Linked DNA regions of Homo sapiens: region 1 is linked to region 2. The links are contacts of gene promoters, found by promoter capture Hi-C in human tissues and cell types (Jung and others, 2019). All regions are on one chromosome and are shown on one strand. The core of a region is centred on a gene start or on the middle of the fragment in contact, and the rest is flanking DNA. Distances in the headings are between cores, read along the strand shown.

The links. The method cuts DNA at HindIII sites, captures the fragments that hold promoters and counts their contacts. A contact is called where the count stands out against the background at its distance.
Region 1: a contact is called between a fragment that was not itself captured here and the fragment with the promoter of ADAMTS3 in region 2, in 2 of the 25 tissues and cell types used here (dorsolateral prefrontal cortex and mesendoderm cells).

The regions. Positions count from the first base shown.
Region 1 is chr4:72,482,652-72,487,091 of GRCh38, forward strand. All of the region lies in intron 3 of ADAMTS3 (ADAM metallopeptidase with thrombospondin type 1 motif 3), which reads right to left. Among named protein-coding and RNA genes, the nearest start is that of ADAMTS3, 84 kb to the right of the region's middle. The HindIII fragment of the contact is 5,223 bases long and covers 480-4,440 here.
Region 2 is chr4:72,565,757-72,570,526 of GRCh38, forward strand. It overlaps ADAMTS3 (ADAM metallopeptidase with thrombospondin type 1 motif 3), which reads right to left and starts at 3,465. Exons shown (of 22, transcript NM_014243.3): 1 at 2,938-3,465; 2 at 1,618-1,645. The coding sequence starts at 3,006. The HindIII fragment of the contact is 11,291 bases long and covers 1,104-4,770 here.

The DNA.
Region 1 (4,440 bases), core at 1,841-4,340, 83 kb before region 2:
AGGGAAACAGAAAAGAGTACACTGAATCTATCATTTCTTATAACTGCAACAGAATCTATAACTATCTCAAAAAGGTTTAATTTAAAAAAAATGTAGATCATGATTTAGTAAGTAAAGCCTGAGATTCTGTATTTCTAACAAGTCTTCAGATAATACAGATTCCACTGCTGTGGGGACCACAATGTAAGTAATAAGTCATTGGAAAATTGGTCACTGTAACTCATCATACTAACAGGCTAAAAATAAAAAAACCCATGACCATCTCAATAGATGCTAGAAAGGCATTTAACAAGATTTAACATCTATAAAAGAGAATAACTATCAGCAAACTAAAATTAGAAGGCCAGTTCCCCAACCTGAAAGTGTGCTAATGAAAAACTTACAGCTAACGTCCTATCAACCATTATTGACTGAATGCAATTTTCCTAAGATTAGGATTAAGACAGAGATTTCTACTCTCATCTTTTTTTTCAACATTTCATTTCTAGAGATCCTAACCAATGTAATGAGGCAAGAAAAAAAAGGCGTACATATTGGAAGGGAAGAAATAAAACTCTCTTTCCCAGAAAATATGACAGTTTATGTAGAAAATTATGAGAGCTACCAAAAACCTACTAAAACTACAAAGCCACAGGATGCAAGGGAATATACAAATTGTACTTCCAAAATTGGTGAATTTCATTTTGTCTAAGTTATACCCCAATAAATCTGATTTTAAAAGCTCTATAGCTAAACTAAATAGTCTAGCCTTGGTTAAAGCAGTATCAATAATCAGTCTTATAATAAATGTCTTAGCTAATGGCAAGTATCCCTCACTCCTTTTATTTCTCTTTTTCCAAAAGAGTGACACCCCATCAACAATGAGTTTCAGGAAGTTCATTCTTCATTTGTCCCCAAGATAACCAGACAATACATTTGGTTTGCCCCAGTCTCAAGTGTAGGACAAATCTTCTGTTAACAGTGGCTCTCAGAGAGGTTTTCACTACTCCTAGTATCCAACCTAGCTGCAAAACAATATAATTGTTTGGATAAAAGTAAAGAAGTAAAATCCAAAGAATACCCAAACCTTCATTAAGATAGCATTTGTGCCAGGCACGGTGGCTCACGCCTGTAATCCCAGCACTTTGGGAGGCTGAGGCAGGCGATCATGAGGTCAGGAGATTGAGACCATCCTGACTAACATGGTGAAACCCCGTCTCTACTAAAAATACAAAAAATTAGCCAGGCGTGGTGGCAGGCGCCTGTAGTCCCAGCTACTCAGGAGGCTGAGGCAGGAGAATGGCGTGAACCCAGGAGGCGGAACTTGCGGTGAGCCAAGATGGCACCATTGCACTCCAGCCCGGGTGACAGAGCAGGACTCCGTCTCAAAAAAGAAAGAAAGAAAAAAAAAAGATAGCATTTGTTTGTTCTATTTATTTGCTCCATTTATTCTCAAACAGCCCTGGCTCCCTCCCTCAATCCCATCTAATTTACCCCAATCTTACTGTCCTTCCTTAAATGCAATAGAATCCAGAAATGTGTAAAAAGGAAAAGCAAAAAGATAATAACAAAGTTTAAAACCTAACACTAAATTACAGTGCACAGTACATATTAAGGCACTATTCTAGTTTCTTATGTGTAAAATTCTTCCAGTAATGTCCTGAAAGTTAAATGCCTTCCTTTTTTCTTTTAAAAAACATATTTTTCCATTATCATTTATAAACCAACAACTACATTTACCCTTTCAAAACTTGGGATCCTGACCATCTATGTCTTACTCAAATATTCCCTTAGTACAGCATACTTAAAGCAGGGTAAAAAAAGACCAAAAGGCAGATAAGTGTGTCTGAACCTCATTAAGGCACAAATGGAGTTGTATTTGATTCACTGTACTTGAGCTACATTCCTACACCAGACCAAAGATGAAGCCAGGAAAATTCAGTTCCCTTGATTTATATACTCACCTTAGCAAAAGTGGGAGTGGATCTCACAGGCTACTCACAGCAAATCTGCAGTGCTCTCATTTGTCATATAGGACAAACTAGAAACTCCCATGGATGGTGAGGATAGGCAGCATGGCGGAAGTGTGCAGAGTGGTGGTGAGGGTGGCTGCTATTGCAGCATATAGCCTACCTTAAAGGTAGATACCTGAAAGATACTCAGGTAACAAGGAAAAAGTCCAATTCTGGTTGTAGATCACTCTTGGGAATAGATTTTTTAAAGTATAAGACCCCCAAAATGCCAGAGTATAAACGACCCTCCCTTTCAATCATGTATCCTTGTTTTTCCTATTTCCCACATTATAAATATCAAAGACCTGAGCATTTACATCAGATTGGTGTGCTCAAAACTTCTTGAAAATGGTGTGTAAAATGTCAGTAAGATGAAATGGGTTGTAAAATGTCAGTAAGATGAAATGGGTTAAAAAGAGAAATGCAGCATATTATACTTCTGATTATTTCTGCAGCCACAAGGTTTTCATTAAGCTTCAAGCATGTGGGTTTGTGATTATGTTCATGACAACAAACACTAAAACATGGAACAAGATCCGTAGTTCAAAGAAATGAAATATTCCAGAATTTATCCACATATTCCAATATACTGTTTTTGTGTATTTTGTTTCCAACTCAAGAGGTTTCTTGAAACCTCTACAAAAATGTTAATCTTAGTGATTCATTCACAAAGGGTTTAAGCTAAAATTTTTGTAGTTTAGACTGGAGTTCAATTGTCAAGTAATGATTTTAGAAGTGATATAAATTTTTAAAATTTTGATCAGATCATAGAGAATAGATAAACATGTCTATTCTAATGCAAAATTTTAGCTACGTTTCCTGCATTATCTTCCAGGCTTAATTATGTATGTTCTGGTTTAACAGGTTATTTTTTTTTTAAAGATCATTGGAAAAATATGTTCACAATAAAATCATTCAAGAAATATATTTCTACCAGTACTCTTGTTTCCTAACTTCCTATTTTTTAAGTTCCCTTAATTTTCAAAACACAAACTTTTCTTTTCTCTCCTGAGTTATATTTGCTGCTCCTAACCATACTTACATTGTTCAATGCCTTCTAAATATAACAACTGCTATGGTCTGAATGTTAGCATCCCCCTCAAAATTCATACGTTGAAACCTAACCCTTACGGTAATGAAATTAAGAGGGGGGGCCTTTGGGAGGTAATAAGGTCATGAGGGCTTTGCCCTCATAAATGAGATTAGTGCCCTTATAAAAGAGGCTTGACAGAGCCTGTTTGCCCCTTCCACCATGTGAGGATGTAGCAAACAAGTGCTATCTTTGAAGCAGAGACTGGGCCCTCACTGGACACTGAAACTGCTGGTACCTTGATCTTGGATTTCCTAGCATCCAGAATTGTGAGCAATAAATTTCTGTTGTTTAGAAATTACCCATTCTTACATGTTTCCATATAGCAGCCCAAATAGACTAAGATGATACCTAGTACGTGCCTTCATGCAAGAACTGTATATAGTAGTAGACTTACATGTTATCTTAGTTAAACCAGACTGAAAAACTTCTGTAGTAAATATCATTTCTGTTTTATAAATGAGGAAACTAAGATCTACATAAATCAATTAAACTTGCCCAACTTAACAAAGTTTCTAGATGGCACAGCCAAGCTTTATCCAGTTCTAATGTACTCCAACACCCAAAATGTATTTTCATCATTGTAGTAAGTACTGAGGCCACCTTGGTTGAACAACCACATTTGGATATTCATATACTTTACTCATATTTCTGCTCAGTCTTGTACAGAGAGGCCTATCTGGCTCCTACTTAAAAAATAAAATTATTTGAATCATAGGTTCTATGTCTATTTCACAAAGAAAACTGAGAACCTAGCCCTCCATCAGGCCTCTGAAGCAAGAGCCCTCCGTCATTAATAAATCCAGGGCTTTGGATGGATTCTATTTTTAGAGTGCTTGAAAAGATCCAAATGCTAGAAAAATCAAATTTTCAAATAGGCAGGTTTCTGATAATAAAAGATTGAATCAAATATGAAAGAAAAAAATAATTCTTTCCCAAAACAGACTGCATGACCAGATGGAAGAAAGAGTTTAAGAACAAAAAGTGCCAAGTACTTAATTCAAGTGAAGAATACAGGCATTCGAGGGTCAATGCACTACTTAGAACAGCCAGAGTGCCAGCATGGACAGAATACTGCACCTTCATTCTCTGATGCTTTTCACTCATCTGCTCTATCACTTCCTTATTCCCCCTCTAATGTCATTAGTTTAAAAAGGTAGAAGGGCAAAATATAGCAAATAATAAATGCTCAGTTAACTGTAGATTGTTCATTGGATTTCATGAAAACTATGCACATCCTTATCTGAATTTAATAACTTATTTTAAGGATGATCACCTCTCCAGTCATCACTTTTACTTTACAGAAGAGAAGAAAAAATATTCTGAGAGGTTAAAATATTCCCAAAGTCACAAGAAGTG
Region 2 (4,770 bases), core at 2,215-4,714:
ATTTTCTTCCCTTTAAAAGGGCTACCATAGTAATTTACATTAGCAAAACAACTGAACCAAACTTCGGTTCAATCCAGGGCCTCTTATATGAGAGCATCCTAATTCTATCTTAAAATTCTAATCAAAGCTATATATTTTATGAAATTTTTTGGTGGAATGGGTGATCTTAAGACATCTTTTTAATTTGCATATTGAAAAGTTGGGACGTGTAAGTAATCAAATATTTAAGTAATTAAAAATAAGACAACTTTCTTCTCCCTACTTAAGAGTTGGTTAAAAAAAATTCTTTAAAAAGATAAGGATTGATGGCTGAATGTTATCAACTACGAATGACAAGTATCTGATCATAAACACTGTACTTTTAGGGCAGTTCTCAGTGCCTTTCCTCCCCACTGTTCTCCTCTTGCCGTCGAGGTCTAAGCTTGGGAAATACATCCAACAATGCTAAGCACTGAGTAGGAAGGAGCATTTTGATATATGCTCATATATTACAGGCTACATATACACACCTCTGGGCTTAGCTCTTGGGTTTCTTAGTTAACAAGTGTGAATCTCCACTGTGTACTATAACAGGTAGCTATGCAACCTCTCAAGCTTCATTTTCCTCATCTCTAACATAGGCACAATAGTATCCCCACCTCACAGTGTGGCTGTGGGAATCAGTTGACATAACACATGAAACAATCAACACTGTGCCTGGCATTTAATAAACGGCCAATGACTTGTAACTATGTTTGCAGCAGCAGTTATAAAAACTTTTCTTCTAAAAGACAGCTTTACAATATCACCTGACAAATACAGAATTGACAGAGACTAATACTCTGCCAAAAAGAAAAATTATCTTTTAAAGTAATCCAAGTAAAATGTGTATGAAAAGACTTTGAATGTAGCCTGGCTTCTTGCCAGATGACTTTCAGCCTCCGCATTCACAACAAATACATTATTCTAAACAGCTTCAAGAAAGACCATGGACTTCTGAGTGACCTGTTGCAAGTCACTTACACTCTCTGAATCTCAGTCTCCTCACCCATAAAATGGGAGTAAGAATCTCCACACCATCAGAAGAGTACTGGGATTTTAGATATTAGCAAAAGGCCTAACAGTATCTTTCACATTAGGAGATAATTATTTTAAAGCAGATTGAATAACAGAAGTCATCAGAGGATTTACCCAAAGCAGGAAAGATTGTAAGAGAAAAATTTCCATGCTCTGTACTTCATTGTTCTCTTCTATGTAGCATTCTTGCCTTCTGTTGTACTCAAATGTGCTCCTCCTAAATGCTACAGAAGTTGATGATTTTATTTCATTCATCTCCATATCATCTTACAGCCCCTCCATCATCTTCCAAGTACATATCAGTGGCTTGTACAAAGACAGTAATAAACTGATGCTTGAAATGTCCAACTGCAGGAGAATTTTTACCTCACTATAATTTAGCCCCAGGAAAGTGGGACCTTCCTCCAGAAAGAGGAAGAGAAGAACAGAAATGTTTCCGGACTACAGATTATTTTTTTTAACCACCAGTGGGAAACATTTCAGAAACAATATTTTGCTTAGCTCACTTCATTCCCTTACTTTCAACTTAAGATAAGAGTGACATCTGAGAACAAAGCTTACCTATTTGCACCATTTCTTCATTACCAGCCTGGAAAGGAGGGGGAAAGCAAGAAAAAGAAAGTTACTGGGTTTCATCTTATCACCTTGTGAGTTTTATTTCTACCATTAATGGTTTCCAAGAGCTAACTAATCAGGAGATGCTAGAGACTGGGATTGGTGCCTAAAGCCTGCACCTTGGTTTGTAGAAGGTTCCATGAGCCAATTCCATAACAATTTGGGGAAGGGAGTTGTTTGCCCCTTTTCATTTTAATTTAACACTTATGAAGCCAGCAAAAATACATACAGACTCTCAATGCTCTCTTCTGAAATGTCGTACTGGGTCTGGATTAGAAAAGAAAGTATGAATTTAACAGGCCAAAATACACCTAACAGGGGGCCTGATTAATCAGATTTAAGGTCAGGAATCAACTAGACAATTCTCTACTTTTTACCCTATGGTCGTTCAGACCAGGCCGACCGGAGAAGCTACAAAAACTAACAGAGAAATTCTGTACCCAAAGTCCCATCGGCCCAGTGCTGATATGATTTACTACAAACAGCTCCCCTGGCGGAGCCTTCTCAAGGACTCTTCTGAGAGCATCGGGCTTCACCTTGAGCCTCCAAAGGGTTGGGGGCAGGGCCGAAAAGAAACAGAGCTGCACTCAACTTAGCTTTAAAAAGAGGAGGAGTTGTGCAGAGGGGGAGGGGAGAAGGCGGCCGGCGCCTGCAGCCTCTGCCCAGGAAAACGGAGGGCAGGAAACGTCTCCAGCCCCCCTCCCCAACTGTCAAATCCTAGCCCGGCCGTGGTACTCCCAGGACACGTGTCTACTGGATCTCTCCCTGTCCGGCCCAAGGACTTCCTGAAACCCCCGCCTCCGGCTGCCCGAAAAAACCGTGAGTCAGTTCGGAGGAGAGAAAGCTCCAGGAACCCGACTCTGGCGGCAGCAGCCAGAGCGCTGGGATCCCGGACCCAGCGTCCAGAACTTCATTCAAGCGCCCAGACCGCCCTCCAGAAAGGGGAAGCCCAGATGGCCCGGCGAGGATGGGAACTGGCTGCGGTTTGTCACTAGGAATTGTTACGAATGTCGCAGACTGGTGAAGCCCTAGGTGTGACAAGACTGGGCTCCCGGAGTGGGAGTCGTAACCTCCCGTGCAACTCAACCCTCTACCCCCAAAAGCCCGCACGCTGCGCCCAGCCCTCAAAACACCGTTTCTGAACGCAAAAGATAACAGGGAAGGGTGGGAGGAGAAGGAGGAAAGAGAGGAGGGTAGAGAGGGGAGGAACTTTTCGGGAAAAGGTTGGGTTTGAGTTTTTTTTTATTGTTATTATTTTCCACTTACTTGTCCATCAGCTGAAGTCCTAACCTCTACCAGAGCGGCTGCTATCAACCAAAGTGACAGGAGAACCATCACGAGTCGAGTTCACTTTCCAACTACTGGGCAAAGCAAATGCCCAGAGCAAACCCACCCCCCCCGCCCAAAATAAGTTTCTTTAAGAAAAAAAGGAAAAGGGAAAAAATGCGAAATAGAAAAAAATGATCTTCTGTGCTTTGCTTCAATGAAAATGAAATTTGAGCTCTGAGACTGGCCCCCTCTGCTCTGCAGTTTTTTCCACTTCACCTTCTCACCCCGTCCTCCCAACACAGAGTGTGCAGGAGCGAGAAGGTGCTGTAAGCGGGCACAGGCTAAGCCTGGGAGAGGGGGAAGGGACGAGGGGCTTTCCAACTATCTCTGCCCAAAGCAGCTTTTTCGAGGCTTTTCGAGCACCATTGGTCCCTAAGGTTAGCGCGGAGAATGCTTGGGTTCCCCGGAGCACAGCAGGGGGAAGTATTAGCGAGAGAGACGAGCGAGCGGGAGCGGGAGAAAGAGGCAGGGAGAGGGCGACTCCGCCGCACACGCAGAGGTGGGGGCGGGAGGAGCGAAGGGGAGGAGGAGAAGGCAGGCGGAGGAGGTGGGAGGAGTGGGCCGCTCGCCGGCTCCTGTTGCTCGCAGCGCGGCAGTCTGCTGGCTGCTGGCGACCCGCGGGGCGCTAATAAGGCGTCCGGAGCTCCCCGGACTGCCCCTCCCGCCGTGGCGCCCACGTCATGCGGGGCCCGAACCCGCGCCCCCCGCACCGTGTCAGGATTGGAGACCGCTCGGGGGCTGGTGTGGCCCGGGCTCGACCTCCCACCCTGGAGCCTCTCCTTCTCCGCCTAGGGCGAGAGGAGGGGAGGGTCCAGGGGCGCCACCGGTCCCGACTGGCGGGACGCGCGTTGAGTTAATTATAGGAAGGGGGAGGGTCCGAGGGCTGGTCCTGGGCTGTAGGAAATTCACCTCCTCCAACCTCCACTGTTCTCCCAGCCAGAGAATTCTCCCCGAAGAGAAGCCCTGGAACCTCCAGATCTTAACCACGCGGTGATCTCCCTTCCAGGCACCAGTCACCTCCCACGTTTTGGCAGGGGGTGTCCTTCTTTGTAAGCTCTTGTTTAGGCTTTATTCGTTTATATTAGTTTTAAAAGATACCACGTCCTTTCCTTGACTCACCCGGATGCTTCCGTTTATCACTAGAGTACACAGGCCTCAGCGACTCTTCCTCACACCCAGATTAAGTTATCAAATGATTTCTGCCCGCTGTGGCCTGGCGCTTCCTGAGGGGAAATGACACCAACCTGAGAGTTTGCTGGAATCCTAGCCCAGGCCCACCTCCCAGGCGTAGACACCTGTGGGTGCTTTCCAGAAAGCAGACAGGAGGAAAAGGAAATAGCTCCAACCTCCACTGACCGGTCCACGAGCCAGGAGTGAGTAGACACAAATTTAGATACGAACTTCAAGACTTCAACTGGACAGTCTTGAAGAGGCCTGCCCACAATAAAACGAGCTAGTGTTTATCTTGTTATGAGATGCAAGATAAGTCATAGTTCTTGTTCTTTTTTAAAAGCAATGTGAGTTTGGAGGGTTTCCTATAACTTCGATTCATTGTTTATTCCTGGAGAGGTAACGTGATGGTTGTGCCTTTAACTTAAGCATGGAAAGATTTGGTGTTCACTGATGTTTTATCTGCTAAGTCTTCTCAAAATCATATATCGAGGACATTTACATATACAAATGAGAAACTAGGTAACTAAATGGCCCCACCTAGTAAAACAGGATATTAGGTCAATTAGTTATTAATTGGAATTAGAATTAGACCCCAGC